7 separate regions of the Homo sapiens genome follow, and regions 1, 2, 3, 4, 6 and 7 are each linked to region 5. Evidence: promoter capture Hi-C in 16 types of primary human blood cells and fetal thymus (Javierre and others, 2016). All regions are on one chromosome and are shown on one strand. Each heading gives the region's core, a stretch centred on a gene start or on the middle of the fragment in contact. The rest is flanking DNA. Distances are from core to core; before and after follow the strand shown.

Region 1 (2,700 bases), core at 144-2,643, 490 kb after region 5:
AAGACATGTCTCAACTACAGCAGGCCTGAATAGGATCAATTGGCCCTTACTATCCATCCCCATTTCTTCTCATGTGTGTTTCCATCTCCAGGGGCTGCAAAGCTAAAAATCACATTCCTTGGTCTCTTCCAGGTCAGGTTCTGGATGCAAACTAAGTTCCATAATTAAAGTACTTGCATGTGATTTTAAAGATGGAAACAAAGCAATAATGATCTTGGTGCCTTTTGTTTTTTCAGTTGCTATTGGGAAACAATGGCATGGAAATGCCAAATCCTTTTTCTTTGTCTTGTCACTTCTTCACAAATTTATTTCTCTTTGTTAAAATGGTATATAAGCTGTCAGGCCTAACTGCTTCTTGGGATTTTTACTTTCTTTTCTGTAAGACTTCTGTGTACACACAAAAATAAAACATTAACATTAAATAAAACACGTATGCCTTTTTTCTATTAATCTGTCTTTTGCCAGTTTAATTTGCAGTGCCATAGTCACTAAGCTTAAGAGAGTAAAGAATAATTGCTTTTCTCCTTTACAATCCCTAGAGTGCTATTTGATCCCTCTCTGGTAGCCTATATTTATTTTAGAGTTCTAGCATCTTCTTTCTTAGTTCTTGCTAAGTTTGTGTGTATGTGTGTGTCCAAGTATATTTATTTACTTGATGCCAAATTTGCTTTAACGGTGAAAATATAATCAACTCAGTCTTGCAGGAGCATCTTTTAAAACCCATTCCAACTCTATCTTTTTAAAAAATTTCCAGTCAAACCAAACGTTCTTCCAGGTTTGTTCAGTACTCAGTGTGATTATCTCCTGACTACTCTTTTGGCATGCATGACTCCAAGATTTTCTTTGGAAACTATGTATACTATTCCCGTATTCTTTTGTCACTGGTTTCATCTGCTATTTTGAGGTTAGGCTTTTCCCCCTTCAAATAGCTGAATGTATGTATGTATGTACGTATATATACAGATATAAATATAATATATGAACCTGAAATACATTATTATATGTTTTTAACATTTTATTTTGAAATACTTATAGATTCACAGGAAGTTAAAAAAATAGTACTGACAGGTCCAATGCACTCTGTATTTTAATGAATATTTAGTTACGAATTCTAATTTTTCTTTTTCTTTTCTTTTCTTTTTTTCTTTTTTTTTTTTTTTTGAGATAGTTTTGCTCTTGTTGCCCAGGCTGGAGTGCAATGGCGTGATGTCGGCTCACCGCAACCTCCGCCTCCCAGATTCAAGAGATTCTCCTGCCTCAGCCTCCTGAGTAGTTGGGATTACAGGCATGCGCCACCATGCCTGGCTTATTTTGTATTTTTAGTAGAGACAGGGTTTCTCCATGTGGGTCAGGCTGGTCTCAAACTCCTGACCTTAGGTGATCCACCTGTCTCAGCCTCCCAAAGTGCTGGGATTACAGGCGTGAGCCACTGCACCCGGCCCCTCTAATTTTTCTAACACATGTCACTCCACACTATTTATTTCCTTGAAGACCTAAAGTAGAAAGTGACATTGCCAAAAAAATGGCAGATAGGGAATTTTAGGGCTCCATCCCTTTATAAAAGCAACTAACAGACAGTAGTATTTGCTCGACAATATGAATGCAATTAAACAACTGAATTTTATACTTTAAAATGATTAAAATGGAAAATCTAATTTTATATATATACATGTATAAAAACACAATACATTTTTAAAAATTTTTAATTTAAAAAATGAAACCAATAAGCTAATAAAAACTGTCAGAATCAACCTTCGCAGAACTCCGGAATTTAATTAAAAGTTTACAACCACCAGGGCAAACTTGATGAAAGAAGTTGCTGCACCGTGGTAAGAGAGTACTATGGCATTTTGGATTGTTCATCTACCATCCCCTCCTCCCCAGTCAGCAGCAGCCATGAAGATGGTAGCACATACTCCAGGTACAGGTTGCTACTGCAAAAGGGGGCAATTTGGATATTATTGTCAAATAATTGTGGTTGTCTGTTTCGACCTCTTTGATGACTCTCTGAAGGTACAAGGTTTGCCTTTGTTTTGCTTGATGCAGAGCATCCCCAGGGCTGAGGAGGCTTCTTGGGCAATGTTTCCAAAAACAAAGCTATTCACCACAGGAGCCTGGAGCAAGGAGTCAGGACAAGCAACAGACAGACTAAAAAACTTGGAAGAAATGCATAGGGAAAAGAGATACGGGAGAAGATAAAGACTTTTTAACATTTCCTATATATAGGGGAATTGAAAAGACTACACACATACCTAGAGCTGGCTGAAGGTTCAGAAAAGTCTTGAGAAGACCCTAAGCTTTCACCTCTCACTGACCTTCAGATTCTGAACAAGCAGGAACTGAAGGCTAAGACAGAGTTGAAAAAATGGCCTGAGCTGGTATGACAATGTATGCATATGGTCCCAGCTACTTGAGAGGCTGAGGTGGGAGAATTGCTTGAACCTAGGAGTTTCAGTCTGGTATGGGCAACATAGTGAAACTCTATCTATACACACACACACACACACACACACACACACACACACACACACACACACACACAGTGGTCTAGCTAAGCACTGATACCATGCTCTCACAGACAGCCAATCTGCAAAGATTGGGAAAGTATTTTATATTCTTTTGTTGGCTCCAGGCATTTAGGAAAACTCTGTCAAAACACTAGATGGCCACTAAGTTAATAGAACACAGATTTCAGTAGCC
Region 2 (2,700 bases), core at 113-2,612, 330 kb after region 5:
AGCATAGTTTCATTGCCCCAAAAATCTTCTGTGCTGTCTATTCATCCCTCCCTTCCCCCAACCTCTAGCAACCACTGATGTCTTTACTTTCTCCATAGTTTTGCCTTTTCCAGAATGTCTTATAGTTGAGATCAGATAGTATGTAGTATTTTGGTATGTAGCATGTTCAGATTGATTACTTTCACTTGGTAAAATGCAGTTAAGGTTTCTTCATGTCTTTTCATGACTTGATAGCTCATTTCTTCTTAGCACTGAATAACAGTTCACTGTCTGGATCTACCACAGCTTATTTATCCATTCACCTACTGAGGACATCTTGGTTTTTTCCAGGTTTTGGTCATTATAAATCAAGCTTCTATAAACATTCATGTCCAGGTTTTTATCTGGATCTAAGTTTTCAACTCATTTGGGTAAATAACAAGAAGCATGATTGCTGTATTGTACGGTAAGAGAATGTTTTGTTTTCTAAGACATTACCAAACTGTCTTCCAAAGTAGCTGTGCCATTTTGCATTCCCACCAAGAACAAACAAGAGTTCCTGTTACTCCACACCTTCACAGCATTTGACATTGTCAGTGTTTTGGATTGTGGCCATTCTGATAGGTGTGTAGTGGTATCTTGCCCTTTTAATTTGCAGTTTCCTAATGGTATGTGATGTTCAACATCTTTTCATATGCTTTTCGCCACCTGTATATCTTCTTTAGTGAAGTGTCTGTTCAGGTCTTTTGTCCATTTTTAAAATTGATTTATTAGTTTTCTTGCTGTTGAGTTTTAATATTTATATTTTTGATAAGAACCCTTAACCAAATGTGTCTTTTGCAAATATCTTCTCCCATTCTGTGGTTTCTGTTCTCATTCTCTTGACAGTGTCTTTTCCAGAGTAGAAGTTTTTAGTTCTAGTGAAGTCTAGCTTATTATTTTTTTCATAGATCATGTCTTGGTGGTATATCTAAAACATCATTGCCATACTCAAGGTTACCTCAATTTTCTCCCATTTTATTTCAAGGAGTTTTATAGTGTTGCATTTTACATTTAGATTTATAATCACTTTGAGCTAATTTTTGTGAAGGGCATAAAATCTCATATGGATTCAATTGTTTGCATGTGGATGTCCAGTTGTTCCAGAACCATTTGTTGAAAAGACTATCTCTGTTCCATTCTATTGCCTTTGCTTCTTTGTCAAATATCAGTTCACTATACTTGTCTGGGTCCATTCTGGATTCTCTATTCAGTTCCACTCATCTTTTTGTTTATTCTTCTACCAATACCACACTGTCTTGATTACTGTAGCTATATAGTATGTCTTTAAGTTTGGTAGTGTCCAACTTTCTTATTTTCCTACAATATCATGTTGGTTATTCTGGGTCATTGCTTCTCTATTTAAACTTCAGATTTAGTTTGCCAATATCCTTAAAATAACTGCTGAGAATTTAAGTGGGACTGCATTGAATCTATAGGTCAAGTTGAGAAGAATTGATGTCTTGACAATATTGAGTCTTCCTGTCTCTGAACACAGACTATCTCTTCATTTATTTCGTTTTTTTTTTTTTTGACATCTTTCATCGGGTTTTTTTTTTTTAGGTTTCCTCATATAGATTTTGTACATATTTTGCTAGATATATACCTAAGTATTTCATTTTGCGGGCTCCTCATATAATTGTTATTGTGTTTTTACTTCAAATTCTACTTGTTCCTTGTTAATATAGAGAAAAATGATTGACTTTTTAATATAACCTTGTTTCCTGCAAACTTGCTAAAATGATTTAATAGTTCCAGAAGTTCTTTTGTCAACTCTCTTATATTTTCTCCATAAACAATTATGCAATCTGAGAACAAAGAAAGTTTTATTTATTCCTTCCCAAACCGTGCACCTTTTATTTCCTTTCTCGTCTTACTGCATGTCTTAGTCCATTTTTTGCGGCTATAACAGGATATCTGAGACTGGGTAATTATTTTTTAAAATAGGTTCATTTGGCTCATGATTCTGGTGGCTAGAAAGTTCACGATGGGGCAAACCATCTGGTGAGGATCTTGTGATGCTTCAACTCTTGGTGAAAAGCAGAAGTGAAGGCGGGCACTTGCAAAGAGACATGCAAGAAGGCTTTCTCAGGAATGAATCCATTCCTGCTAGAGTGAGAACTCACTCACTTCCACGAGGCAGCATTAATCTATTTATGAGGACAGTATCTCTGTGATCTGAACACCTCCCACTAGGCCTAGCTTCTAACACTGCCGTACTGGGAATCAAATTTCAACACAAGTTTTGGCAGATGGCATTCAAACCTTAATATTGCATTAGCTAGGACTTCCAGTATGATGCTAAAAAGAAGTGCTTAGAGGGAGTATCCTTGCGTTGTTCCTAATTTTAGTGAGAAAGCTTATATTTTCTCATTGTTAAGTATGATATTAGCAGTAGATTTTATGCAGATTTTTTTAAATCCAGTTCAGTATGCTCCCTCTATTCCTAGTTTGTTGAGTGTTTTTACATGAGTGGGTGGTGGATTTTGTCAAATGCTTTCTCTGCATCTGTTGACATGATCAAGTAATTTTTATTCTTTAGCTTGTTGATGTGATGGATTAGATTAATCTATTTTCTGGTGTTGAACCAACTTTGAATTCCTGGAAATAATCCCACATAAACACACTGTATAATTCCTTTTATACATTGTTGGATTCAATTTGCCAATATTGAGTTGAAGA
Region 3 (2,700 bases), core at 93-2,592, 360 kb after region 5:
GCCATTCTCATCATGTCATATGAAGGATACATACTATCAGCTTGACTTACCTAGTTACTTTTCCCAAGGTGTATTTCAATATGGTTTCATGTACCCTCCCCCTGTGAAAATTACAAGGGGATTTATCTCTAATTTTCACAGTGAGAACCCTGCTAGGGTTTCTGGAGGTAAAATCCACAAATTCATAGGCCCCCAAAGGCGGAGCCCCCAGGAGTTTCTAAGTCTTTGCTGGTCCACACTAAGCCTCCAGCAATCCAACAAAGTCCTCATTAAATATTCTTACCAGTTTATGGCTCCAGGAGCATCTGCTCCCAGTAAACAGATGACAGCTATATCTCTCTGGATGCCCCTGTTTCTTCACATTTTGGGGTGACTGTTTGACCTGCAACTTAAGTTCTCTGATAGGTTCAAGAAAGACAATTAATTTTTAATTCATCTAGCTTTTTCTTGTAAGACTGAGAGTCATGTCTTCCAAGCTCGTTACATGTCAAAGCTGAAAAATTCACTGTTTTAATGCAAGCTTATGCAGCATCACTCATAAGGAAGTAAAATCAGTGGCCTAAAAACCTTGCTTTAATAGGCAGGTGATCTTTGAATTGAGTTATCTGCTACGCTGGTTTCACTGTATGAAATTTAGAGTGCCTTGGAAACCAGCTTTCAACAAAAATGTATTTCTCTCTTGGCTAATTTGGCTTTATTCCATTCAGAGGTACCATCGTAAAAGGATAAAAGCATTGGAACTTGCATCCAAAGATACAGACTTTTGGTATCTACAGCAAAAAATCTTACTGGACCATCTCTCTCTCTCTCTCGCTCTCTCTCTGAGACTCAGTTTCCTCTTTTGTCAAATTTATTGGCCACAGGGATGTCCTCTAATTTATGTGTCTAGCACAAAACCTGGTACAGTATAGGCTTCATTGAAAACTGAACTGAAATGCCTGCACAATCCATCTCATGGTGTTATTATGACAATTAAACAAAATAATGTACATGTAAGCTCTTTGCAAACTTCAAAGAGCCTTATAAACACTGCTCCTTTATTTATCAGTCATCAATCATGAATGCATGTCTGCATGCAAACATTTCTATGGAGGATTTTCATTTGTTTGTTTGCTTGCTTGTTCATGTTGGGTTTTTTTTGTTTTGTTTTGGTTTGGTTTTTATTTTGACGTTGTGCAGGTAAGAAGGAAGGCAGTATTAAAGAGTTAATTTTTATTCAAATTATAGATTGATTTCAGTTATAGCAACACTATACATTCCTCAGCTTGTCCAATTAAAAATCCTGGCAAGTGTTTTGATATTTGACAGCTCTGCTGTCAAGCAATTCTGTTCTACAATTAATCATGGCACAGCCATTTCTTCAACTACTGCCACAATATAAAGGCATCATTGTACACGCAGACATAGTACACTTGTATACTGTTTAAAAGGAGGCAGAACTAATGAACATTAAAAATTTACTACTCTGTAGATTGCAGTTGCATGGCCAAGATTTATTATTAAACCCATTCTATTTTAATACTATCACTGCTCCTATCTGAGCTTAGATACAAGTGTTCAGATATTGCAGTTTTCCATTTCCTAGTTTGAGAAATTAAGATTCTGCTTTCTTTGAGTTCTTTTGAGGGTTGGCCAGATAGGTGCACTGTACAACGACTGGGATCCTTTAATGATTGAGTGTCAGCTCCTGGGTTTTGGTTGTTGTTTTGTCTGGATCAGTGTTTGTTAGACACAACTATAGCACCTACCTCCTTTCCTCCCCCACTGTCAGTGACTTCCTGAGGCAAACAAGTTTGCCACAAATCAAAATGCTTGCAACATACATCTCTATGAACCTGTTCCATCTCTCCTTGGCAACTTGCCACTTTGCTTCACTCTTAGCACTGAACACCCTGCATTTACCAAATGGCTTGGTATCTTTAGTAAATTAACCATTTCATGGGAATTCTACCCTTCCACCAGAATCATGTGTTTCTCATAGAGAGGCATGTTACATTTAAAGCAGTCTCAGGCAGCTTTGAACAAATACATTACCACTGTTTTTCGTTACTATCAGTTCCTGTTTACCTGTCTCATTTGTCAAGCAATCCCATCACAAATTACATAAATGGTCATCTAGAAACTACAGATACATTGGTTAAAAAATTTGTGTAAAAAATAGATATAAGCTTTTACCTTTAGAGGTAATTACAACTACTTACTCTGGTGACAGTTTGTGATTTTTCTGATTTTCATCTTTACAGACTTCCATGTTGAACTCCATTACTAATACTTTATGCAACTTCATAATCACCCCTGCTACAACAATACTGTGAGTTGCTATTAAATTGCCCTCCCAAAAAATGTGATACAAACACAATCTCAAAACTTCATTTTAATTTTTTTAAAAATCAACTGAAAAGTGTGCTTTTTATATATGTTGATAAATACCATAATAAAGTTCTGCTGTCACTTAGGGAAGCAAGTGAATGTAATTGGTGAATAAATTAAGTTCAGACTATATTAACTATGTGTGTAAGGAAGGAGTGGGTGCCTGAGCCTAAGATTGATATGAAGTAAATGGAAATTTTCAAGCTCTGAATTTTTTTTCCCACTGCCTTATGATCTGATCTTAAATCTGTTCTATGCTTTTTTTAAAAAAATAAAACTGATCATTTCTTATTCTAGAAATGCCAGAAATAATGCAACACCACAGTTTCA
Region 4 (2,700 bases), core at 160-2,659, 380 kb after region 5:
CCACCTCTGGTTTCTCCAGGTTTTGAGCTTCCCACCAGTTCTGCTGTGCGAATTTGTTCTTTTCATCCAGACTTATTTTCTATAAGCACCATAAATCATGGCTTCATCCCCATGCTCAGTCAGTTATCAGGCCTCCATCTGCTCTCTGACTACTTTCTCACATATGCCCTAGGGGCCTTGGCAGGTCACAGGCTTGTGTAATAGGACCTGTGATCCTAGGCTCACCAAGCAGAATTGTTGATACCTTAGTCCTTGGAGTCAGCCTTTTTGTTCTATTATATATCATGGATTAGCTTAGTGTATGTTAGCTAGAGGAATAAAATAGTAATATGTATGTAGCCTCGCAAAGATTAAACCCATTCCCATTGCAAAGCAAATTAAAAACAAAAACCCATATTCACTAATGTTACATATTCCTTTCTCTTTGTTCTGATGGGTTTTATGCGTTTCTTATTTCTTCTTATTTTGGAAAGGTGCTGGAAAGAAGAAATTGTCTTCATTGGAATCATCTCTTCTATGAGTTCAAATAATGTTTTTTTAAGTCTCCAAAGCCATGTTTTCTCGTTTGCTCGGATCAAGAGAGAATTAATGCTAAATGCTTGTAAGAGTCAGTCTTACCCAGTAGAAACTTCTGCTTAAAAGTCCAAGTCCCCATGGGAAATTTGTTGGCTCTCAACTCTGGAGAGGCTTTCATTCAGTGTTCAGACATGTTCTCCTATGGCCAGATCTATGTTACTCTGCAGCCCACGTTCTGTCATGGTTTATTCTCCTACTACATACGCTTTTCTACAAATTGCCTATGGCACACACGGCTGGTCCTGACCACAAAATGGAACCTAAGAGAACTTTGTCTCTCAGAACTGGGTTCCCAAGCCTTAAGGAAAACCAGGAGCTAAGTTTCTGCTAAGCAATTAGTCATGAGTTAGATATCCAGCTTTTGGTAAGCACAATACTGAGAAGAAAGGGGGAGGTCATTTAGAAATTCAGAACCTGTACTGAATTGTCTCTCCCCTCCAAGATTCTTGGCTTTATCACTGAAAACTGAAAAGAAGCAGTGTTTGTTTATTCTTTGTGTTTACTGAACACTGTTGAGACTCTTGTCACATTTCTTAGCCACTATAAAAAGTATCAACCTCTCAATGTGCTTCTAAAAATCTGAGGATCCAATCAATTATTTGCCTACCTGGAATTTGTTTTCATGTTATTACTAGTCTGCAGGGTAAACCAAATAGCACAAAGTTTCATCTCTTCTGCCCAAGTATCGTCACTTTGAATCAACTGCCTTTGTAAACTGTATAGTGTTTGCCCTGGTGTATACATTTGATTTTTCAGAAACTGAAAAAACTAATAATAAAAATTTTGACTCCATGAATTCCTTCTTATTCAGAAACGGTGTAAAATTTGTTTTGGTATGAATTTGGGCATGGTCTTATCATCTCTGATGATTTACAGTAACACCATTTTCTGTAGAATTGTTATTTAAATAAAGGTTACTTGTGCTGGGCATAGTAAATAGCCCACAACCATAGTCCCAGCTACTTGGGCAGCTGAGGCAGGAGAATCACTTGAGCCCAGGAGTTCTAGGCTGTAGTACGCTATGCCAATCGGGAGTCTACACTAAGTTCAGCATCAATACTGTGATCTCTCAAGAGCAGGGGACCACTATGTTGCCTAAGAAGGGGTCAACTGGCCCAAGTTGGAAATGGAGCAGGTCAAAGCCTGCATGCTGATGAGTAGTGGGATTGTACCTGTAAAAAAAACACTGTACTCTAGCATGGGCAACATAGCAAGACCCTGTCTCTTAGCAAGAAACAATTACTTTTATCACTTTTATTTAAGTCCATAATTATAAAACTGTCTTGATTCATTCATTCAACAAACATTTTTTAAAGCCTCGTATGTGCCAGACATTGAGTTGTAATCTCCATAAGCTCAGTGACTTCGTTTGTTTCATACACTATTGGATTTCTAGCACCATGAACAGTACCAAGACCAAAGAAAGCCCTCAAGACTTAACTGTTGCTGTTGAATGGGTAACTGAATAGGTCATAACTAATTAGGGGGCTTAAATAAGTATAGTAACATATAAGAGAACATGAACAGAGGTATGCTTAGTGCATTCATTTCTTATTGCTGCTATAACAAATCACCACAAATTTGTTGCTCAAAACAACACAAACTTATTATCTTATAGTTCTGGAGGGCAGAAGTCCTAAAATCAAAGTGTTGGCAGGGCTATGGTCCTTCTAGAGGGTCTAGGGGAACATCCTTTCCTTGCCTTTTTCAGCTTCTACAGGCCACTGCCCTGCCCTGCTTGTGGTCCTTCCTCCATCTTCAAGCTCAGCACTCATTCACACTTGTGTGTACTCTCTCTTTCCCCCACCTCCTCTGCTTCTTCGGTCCCATCTCCTTCTGACCCTCCTGCTTCCCTCTTATAAAGACTCCATGTGTTTATATTGGGTATGCCAGATAATTCAAGATAAGACCCTTTCACCATATGAGATAATACATTCACAATTTCTGGAGATTAGCATGTGGACATCTTTTGGGGGGCATCATTCTGTCTAGCACACAAAGAGTGTAATGGACTGCAGAAGAAAGGGGCTTCATCTTAATCTGGAAAGACAAGAAAAGGTTTAGAGAGAAGGCTTTTGTTGAGCCAAGTCTGGAAGCATAAGTAGATAAGGAAGAAAGAGTTTT
Region 5 (2,700 bases), core at 122-2,621:
AACTGTTGTTACCCAAGAGTGTGCCGAGGTCACTTTTTAAAAAGCAACATTGGAAATCGATCTGTGGCAAACATATAAGCTAGTTTTGTTTTTGTTTCTTTTTTAACCAAATACGAAGTCACTTCTTTCTCTGCACTGAAATCTGCCCATTGTCCCTCCTTTGCAAAACCTCTAGAGATTAGAAGGGACATCAATGAACGCGAGTGAACTTTGGCCACTTTTCTACCCAAAACACCAGCGTAAAAGTAGAAATCAGTAACCAGGTGAAGTGCCACACCGCACAAAGATCAGAGGCGAGGGGCGGGCGCTCAGGGCCGGAGGCGGGGAGGAAAATATCCCGGCCCCGCCGCCCCTCCAGCCCCAGTCATCGCGTGCGCGGGAGGTGGAGGGGCGTCCCTGGGGGGCGGGAGGCTCCGCGCCACGGCGAGGGGAGCGAAGAGTTACAGCTTACAGGGCGAGGCCCTTGGAGAAGGGGTCGAAAAGCCGGGCCACCAGCGGATCCAGACGCGCACACCAGGCGACGGCCGCCGGCCAGCCAGGGCTCGGCGAGGGGCGCCGCTCGACCCCACGACCCTCCCCGCTGGCCGGGCCAGGAAGGGGCTGGTGGCTCTTTCCTGTCTAGTCTCTCCCCCCGCGGCTTTCTGTAACCCGATCCCCGCACTCCGCTCCCAGGGAAGCCGCCGCCCCGCGCGCCGCCCGGCTCTGCCCAGGCCAGCGCTATAGTTAGCAACCTTCCAGCAACTCCGCCCGGCGGTGGCGGGGGTTCGCCGCGCGCCCCCCTCCCCAGGCCTGACCCTGCGCGCGTCCCCGGGCCCCCTCCTCCGGCCGTCACCTCTCCCCGGCGCCCCTTTACCTTGGCTTGCAGATACTGGGGGTAATAGTAGGTGGCGTACTGAGGGTACATCTGCTGTTTCCACACTTTGCCCATGAAGCTGGAAGGGAGCCTGCCGTGCAGGGTCGCGGACACTTTGGGGTTTCCAAGTCTCGGGCTCTCCTGCCTCTCCCTTTCCGGCGGCGGCGGCAGCGGCGGCGGCGGCGGCGGCTGCTGCTGCTGCCGCTGCTCCACCTCCCAGCCGGGACCAGACGTCCTCCTCCTCCTCCTCCTCTTCCTCCTCCTCCTCCTCCTCCTCCTCCTCTTCCTCCTCCTCCTCCTCCTCCCAGGCAGAAAGAAAGACACTGCAGAGCGCAGAGGGCACCCCGGACAGGGCGCTCCCAAGGAGTTTCCTCCCGGAGCCCGACTGCTCCGGGGCTGCCAAGGGCTGGCGCGCTGGCCGCGGTCCGCTCGGGCGAGCCGGCTGCGCGGGGCTGAGAGGTGATCAATACAAGTGGAAAGTGCGGCAGCGGCGGCTGCGCTTGGTGCCAGGCGGCATCTGGGGTGGGTGCGCCCGATGTGGAGAGAGGAGAGGGGCTGGCGTTCCGAGGCCGTGGGGGAAGGGCGGGCGGGGGCGGGGCCTGGGCGCCGCCGAGCCCGGGACCCGCTGGAGGTGAGGGCTGAGTTTTAACCACTCCTCACCTCCCAGGCTCGCGGTTGGACGGGCGGAAGCCCTGTGAGTCCAGATCGCTTTGTGTCGGGGGTGGGGAAATGGGAGTGGGAGTGGGGGTGGAGGGGGAATGCGGGGGGACCCAGCTTAAGAACTGCAGGGCGGGCACCTCTTTTGCTTTCCCGAGTTTTTATCTTCGTAAGGGGGAGGGGAAATAAGGGAAAAGAGGAAATCTGATTAATCGTTCACTTCCCACCGCCCAGTAATTTTTTTTCACAAGGGAAGGAAAATGATTTAATGCCCAACAAAGCTGGAGTCTGGACACCTGGGTTCTGTTCCTCCCACCCACCCCCGACCCGGGGCCACAAGACTAATCTAGGTGACCTTGGGAGGGTTAGCGTCCTTCGGTTTGGTTTTCCCAGATGTGAGACGTGAAATCATGCCCCTTGCACAAGGGGAGGCAAAGCACATACATACATACACACACACACACACACACACACACACCCCTCACAACATATAGACGGATCCTTCTAAGAGGGGGATGCCGCAAAGAGGCAGAATGTTATTAGAGGACACAATATAGACATCAGCTTTTCTCTGCCTCTTTCTAATGCTGCCAGACAGTCTGTCAACTCCCACTCAGGAGCAAGGAAACTCCCTGAGTTTGGAATATTTTAAGGCCATTTTGAAAGTCACGCTGGCATATTGTTGCAGTGTGCTTCAGTGACATATAAAATCAATCTCTCTTTCTGCCTCTCTCCATCTCCTAATTGTCACAGCTCTAGACAGCCTCAGACCAGCAGTGGTTCAGTTCACTACATAACTAGATATAATTTAATGGAATTAATTGGTCCCCGAAGCTGCCTGCAGAAGACTTTTATATTCCAGCTCAAAAAGAGAGCTAATACCAAAATGTACATACGGATAGCATAGGTAAGCAAGCATCCTCAAATTAGGGTTCCGGCACATCTAATAAAATGTAATAAAAAACTGTGTTTGTTATTAAATAGACCTTGTTTACTTTGTCATTTTGGTTTTTGAAGAGTCTTTTGTTAATAGCACAAGGTAAATTAAACTCAACTGGAATGCATTATTTTGTTAAACAGTTATTATTTTTATATGATAACATTTTAAAATAGGTTTAGTAAGATACTTTAAAACAATGACAAAATAAGGACCTGAAACCCTTATAATCGTTCTATGGTTTAGACAAATT
Region 6 (2,700 bases), core at 33-2,532, 450 kb after region 5:
ATATATTGCATTATCCTGTGCCTGCATTTCCATACTTGTCCACATTGATTTTATCAGTGTGAGGTCACCCTTCTCTACAAAGCAATGTCTTCTTTAAGCGTAATGCATCTAGGGCATAAGACGGTGTACAAGAAAGGGCCACTTCCTTATCTGACAAATGGGGGGTGAGAATGCCCACTATTTAGATCCCTACAAATGTTCAATGATAACGGGCATGCAAATAATTTAACAAAAATTCTAGTATGCAGTATACATAAGAAATCCTGAGGCATATCTGTACACTAAAATGAATACAGATTTGGAAGCCAAATAGACCTCATTCTATTTTTATCTTTGTCACTTGATGGTCGTATGACCTTATCAACACTTACATGCAATTATTTATTATATAATACTTCACAATTTGCTGGACTGAAAATTTCTCAAAGGGAGGTATTATGTCTTACATATATTTATGCACAGTGCTTCGACTTACGTTGTTTAACCTTCCTGAGCCTTAGTGTTCCCGTCTGTGAATTGAAGTGGGTGTTACATACCTCTGTGTCACAGACATTTTATGCCCTGGCTCACATCTTCTTAGCCCACCTTTTTTCTCTAGCTATTGCTATAACTACCAGATGTGCACAGGAATAGCCTGATGATAGCTCACCTCGGCTGCACCCTGAGAACTCTGCCATCACCCAAGAGACATCTGCAGGAGGCTGGCTGCAGGAAGAGAGCCCTCTTCTAACATTTAATCAGTGGTCCACACTGGGGAGATACAGTTATCACCACTGAGAGAGGGAGGTACTATTGGCACCTAATAGGTAGAGGTCATTGTAGGATGCTGTTAATGTCCTATAAGTACAGCATAGCCCCTCACAACAAAGAATTATCTAGTCCAAATGTCAATGGTCCCATTGTTGAGAAACCTTGACCTAGAAACTGCAAAAACCTCATCGGAGGAAGAAGCTTCATAAGATACTCTCCTCCCTGTCATGTTCTGCTCCCATCTACCCTCACTGTCTCCACACTGGACCCAACAGAAAGTTATTTATCTAATCTGTAAGCATACATACTAAACAATTAGCAGATTCCCTCCATTGTTTCCTATCCTATAGAATGAGAGCTATAATGATAGGAATGTTTAGGCCACAGCACCATTGTGAAGTGTATATGATCCTGGCTTTGGAAGAAAGTAGTACAACCAGAGAATTTTAAGACCTGGTTAATGCACCCAGGAGAAGCCAGGGGAACAGGTGTAGGAGTAGATCTTAGAGTACCCAACACAAGGTTAGCACATAAGGCTGGAGAAGGGAGAATGTATTGATGTTAGAACACTCTCCCGTGACATGGGGTTCAACATCTTAGCAAAGACACATAGAACTGGTCCTAATACACTGCTAAAATTGTTCCTTATAGCTTTGTCCTTATCAAAGTAATTAGGTAAGTCAGGCCTTGGCAGGGTTTTGGGGAAGGGCTTGAAGGGCTCAGGGAGGTGGAAATGTTGGAATGGGTTTACTGTGTTACATCAAAGTACCCACCACCTGACTCTGTTGCCTGAGGGAGTCCAAAGAACACTCCTACAATCAGTCAATGAAGAATGCAGAGTGAGGGGAGCACCACCATTGTGGAGAAGCTTGGTTGTGTTGTTGACAGTGGGAAGTGCTATGTTAGAACCAGTCTCCCTGGTATCAATGGAATTGATAGGATTCTCAAATAGGAGAGGCTAATTTGTCTTCACAGAAATAGGGTGGTCATAATTTCTGAAATAAACAGTGAGGCCAGAGTGATGACCTGAGAGCTTTGACCCATAGGAATCGGTAGCAGTTGTTAATAAATCATGGGAGCAAGACAGATGGGCAGCCAACTAGAGTTTCACTTCATCTATAGAGCCAGCAGGAGAGATCTGGAAAGCAAAAAACTGGTGTCTGTCGCCCCAATGGGAAATCACACTCTCTCACCCATTTACTAGATCTAAGTCAGTTCCCAGACACAGAGCTCAGTCTCTGATCCAGAGCTCAGTGACTATCAAAGAGACTAGGTCCATTTGGCAATATCCTGCAACACCACTGCAAAAATTTAAAATAAATATCTCCTGATCCTTTCCCAAAGGAACTTGAAGCTATTTACCAGAATATCAGATATACACTGGGGAAACAAAAATACCCAGACCATGCAAGGACTTTTAGACTCAGAGTCTGAGTTGGCTCTAAAAGCAAGGAATTGAAAATGCTATTGTGACCCTTCATTAGAAAGAGGCATGTAGAAGCCAGGTGATGAATAGAATCCTGGCCCATGTCCATCTCATAGTCGTCCAATGGGGCCGCAGGCCACCTGTGTGGTTATTTGCCCAGTCCCTCAGTACAATCAAGATTGGTTCCTTGGCCACTGAAATAAGAGCCACTGTGGGTTTGGAAGAGACATGGGAAGTTCCCCAAACTGCAATCCTACATCTCAAGAGAAATTGCAGAAATTAGCACCACCACCAAAGACTTGAAGGATGAAGGGATAGCCTCATTCAATTCACCTATTTGGCCCTTGCAAAAACTAGAAGGATCATCATGAATGATAGTGGACCAAAGTTAACATAACCAAATGGCATCCACAATCACATATACCATGTCAGATACGGTAATGTTTCTTCCATTGAGGCATTTTATTTGTAAGTATGTATTCCATCTCTAAAAAGAATCCCCAGATTTTTCCTCCTGTTTGTTT
Region 7 (2,700 bases), core at 88-2,587, 500 kb after region 5:
TTTTCTATCTAAGGTAACTGCACAAAGTAAATCATTTTGCCTTATCAGCATTCTAAACACTTTGGTTTTCAATGTCTTTATTTTTAATAGAAGTTCAATATTTGTCCTCATGCAGATCTATTAGATAATTCATATGAAGCATTTTGCATAGCACCTTGCATGGGAAGGCTTAGAAATAGTCATTGATACTATTGTTATAGGATTATCCATTTTAGAGAAAACTTATTTTAAATGTTAAACAAGAATACCATTAGTGATTTGTTTACAGGTTACTTCTACATTGTACAGAGGTGAAATAGTTTTCATGACAGAGTTAAACAGTCTCTCCATAAAAAGTTAATATTTAGAAACTTGAAAAAAGCCAGGGGCAGTGGCTCATGCTTGTAATTCCAGCACTTTGGGAGGCTGAGACAGGCAGATGACTTGAAGCCAGGGGTTCAAGACCAGCCTGGCCAACATGGTGAAACCCTGTCTCTACTAAAAACACAAAAATTAGCCAGGCGTGGTGGCATGCATCTGTAATGCCAGCTACTCAGGTGGCTGAGGCATATACAATCTTTTGAACCTGGGAGGTGGAGGTTGCAGTGAGCAGAGACTGTGCCACTGCACTCCAGCCTGGGTGACAGAGTGAGACTCCATCTCAAAAAAAAAAAAAGGAAGAAAAAAGAAAAGAAAACTTGAAAACAGTGGCAAATTTGTCTATTTCTGTTTTTTAAAAAATATTTAAATTATTTAATTATTTGTCTTTTTTAATATTTTTATTATTATTATACTTTAAGTTTTAGGGTACATGTGCACAATGTGCAGGTTAGTTACATATGTATACATGTGCCATGCTGGTGTGCTGCATCCATTAACTTGTCATTTAGCATTAGGTATATCTCCTAATGCTATCCCTCCCCCCTCCCCCCACCCCAAAACAGTCCCCAGAGTGTGATGTTCCCCTTCCTGTGTCCATGTGTTCTCATTGTTCAATTCCCATCTATGAGTGAGAACATGCGGTGTTTGGTTTTTCGCCCTTGCAATAGTTTACTGAGAATGATGATTTCCAATTTCATCCATGTCCCTACAAAGGACATGAACTCATCATTTTTTATGGCTGCATAGTATTCCATGGTGTATATGTGCCACATTTTCTTAATCAAATCTATCATTGTTGGACATTTGAGTTGGTTCCAAGTCTTTGCTATTGTGAATAGTGCCGCAATAAACATATGTGTGCATGTGTCTTTATAGCAGCATGATTTATGGTCCTTTGGGTATATACCCAGTAATGGGATGGCTGGGTCAAATGGTATTTCTAGTTCTAGATCCCTGAGAAATCGCCACACTGATTTCCACAATGGTTGAACTAGTTTACAGTCCCACCAACAGTGTAAAAGTGTTCCTATTTCTCCACATCCTCTCCAGCACCTGTTGTTTTCTGACTTTTTAATGATTGCCATTCTAACTGGTGTGAGATGGTATATCATTGTGGTTTTGATTTGCATTTCTCTGATGGCCAGTGATGATGACCATCTTTTCATGTGTCTTTTGGCTGCATAAATGTCTTCTTTTGAGAAGTGTCTGTTCATATCCTTTGCCCACTTTTTGATGGGGTTTTTTGTTTTTTTCTTGTAAATTTGTTTGAGTTCATTGTAGATTCTGGATATTAGCCCTTTGTCAGATGAGCAGGTTGCGAAAATTTTCTCCCATTTTGTAGGTGTCTGTTCACTCTGATGGTAGTTTCTTTTGCTGCGCAGAAGCTCTTTAGTTTAATTAGATCCCATTTGTCAATTTTGGCTTTTGTTGCCATTGCTTTTGGTGTTTTAGACATGAAGTCCTTGCCCATGCCTAGGTCCTGAATGGTATTGCCTAGGTTTTCTTCTATGGTTTTTATGGTTTTAGGTCTAACATTTAAGTCTTTAATCCATCTTGAATTAATTTTTGTATAAGGTGTAAGGAAGGGATCCAGTTTCAGCTTTCTACATATGGCTAGCCAGTTTTCCCAGCACCATTTATTAAATAGGGAATCCTTTCCCCATTGCTTGTTTTTCTCAGGTTTGTCAAAGATCAGATAGTTGTAGATATGCAGCGTTATTTCTGAGGGCTCTGTTCTGTTCCATTGATCTATATCTCTGTTTTGGTACCAGTACCATGCTCTTTTGGTTACTATAGCCTTGTAGTATAGTTTGAAGTCAGGTAGGGTGATGCCTCCAGCTTTGTTCTTTTGGCTTAGGATTGACTTGGCGATGCGGGCTCCTTTTTGGTTCCATATGAACTTTAAAGTAGTTTTTTCCAATTCTGTGAAGAAAGTCATTGGTAGCTTGATGGGGATGGCATTGAATCTATAAATTACCTTGGGCCGTATGGCCATTTTCATGATATTGATTCTTCCTACCCATGAGCATGGAATGTTCTTCCATTTGTTTGTATCCTCTTTTATTTCATTGAGCAGCGGTTTGTAGTTCTCCTTGAAGAGGTCCTTCATATCCCTTGTAAGTTGGATTCCTAGGTATTTTATTCTCTTTGAAGCAACTGTGAATGGGAGTTCACTCATGATTTGGCTCTCTGTTTGTCTGTTATTGGTGTATAAGAATGCTTGTGATTTTTGCACATTGATTTTGTATCCTGAGACTTTGCTGAAGTTGCTTATCAGCTTAAGGAGATTTTGGGCTGAGACAATGGGGTTTTCTAGATATACAATCATGTCGTCTGCAA

The links. Contacts are between HindIII fragments. The CHiCAGO score rates a contact against its expected background, and 5 or more counts as called.
Region 1: a contact is called between a fragment that was not itself captured here and the fragment with the promoter of RBMS1 in region 5, in 6 of 17 cell types (M2 macrophages, M0 macrophages, endothelial precursors and 3 more). The highest score is 9.9, in M2 macrophages.
Region 2: a fragment that was not itself captured here is called in contact with the fragment with the promoter of RBMS1 in region 5 in 2 of 17 cell types (M0 macrophages and M2 macrophages); the score reaches 6.4 in M0 macrophages.
Region 3: a contact is called between a fragment that was not itself captured here and the fragment with the promoter of RBMS1 in region 5, in 1 of 17 cell types (M0 macrophages). The highest score is 5.8, in M0 macrophages.
Region 4: a fragment that was not itself captured here is called in contact with the fragment with the promoter of RBMS1 in region 5 in 4 of 17 cell types (M2 macrophages, naive CD4 T cells, M0 macrophages and 1 more); the score reaches 7.0 in M2 macrophages.
Region 6: a fragment that was not itself captured here is called in contact with the fragment with the promoter of RBMS1 in region 5 in 6 of 17 cell types (M2 macrophages, M1 macrophages, M0 macrophages and 3 more); the score reaches 9.9 in M2 macrophages.
Region 7: a contact is called between a fragment that was not itself captured here and the fragment with the promoter of RBMS1 in region 5, in 6 of 17 cell types (M2 macrophages, endothelial precursors, M1 macrophages and 3 more). The highest score is 8.3, in M2 macrophages.

What each region holds. Positions count from the first base shown.
Region 1 is chr2:160,978,789-160,981,488 of GRCh38, forward strand. No RefSeq gene overlaps it. Among named protein-coding and RNA genes, the nearest start is that of TANK-AS1, 180 kb to the right of the region's middle. The HindIII fragment of the contact is 1,804 bases long and covers 492-2,295 here.
Region 2 is chr2:160,818,833-160,821,532 of GRCh38, forward strand. No RefSeq gene overlaps it. Among named protein-coding and RNA genes, the nearest start is that of RBMS1, 330 kb to the left of the region's middle. The HindIII fragment of the contact is 2,025 bases long and covers 351-2,375 here.
Region 3 is chr2:160,857,450-160,860,149 of GRCh38, forward strand. No RefSeq gene overlaps it. Among named protein-coding and RNA genes, the nearest start is that of TANK-AS1, 300 kb to the right of the region's middle. The HindIII fragment of the contact is 1,648 bases long and covers 519-2,166 here.
Region 4 is chr2:160,876,049-160,878,748 of GRCh38, forward strand. It overlaps the pseudogene RN7SL423P. Among named protein-coding and RNA genes, the nearest start is that of TANK-AS1, 280 kb to the right of the region's middle. The HindIII fragment of the contact is 3,214 bases long and covers 1-2,700 here.
Region 5 is chr2:160,492,436-160,495,135 of GRCh38, forward strand. RBMS1 (RNA binding motif single stranded interacting protein 1) reads right to left here and starts at 1,372. Exons shown (of 14, transcript NM_016836.4): 1 at 854-1,372. The coding sequence starts at 928. RefSeq lists an enhancer at 913-1,433 and a silencer at 1,620-1,799. The HindIII fragment of the contact is 13,330 bases long and covers 1-2,700 here.
Region 6 is chr2:160,943,594-160,946,293 of GRCh38, forward strand. No RefSeq gene overlaps it. Among named protein-coding and RNA genes, the nearest start is that of TANK-AS1, 220 kb to the right of the region's middle. The HindIII fragment of the contact is 667 bases long and covers 950-1,616 here.
Region 7 is chr2:160,996,744-160,999,443 of GRCh38, forward strand. No RefSeq gene overlaps it. Among named protein-coding and RNA genes, the nearest start is that of TANK-AS1, 160 kb to the right of the region's middle. The HindIII fragment of the contact is 3,574 bases long and covers 1-2,700 here.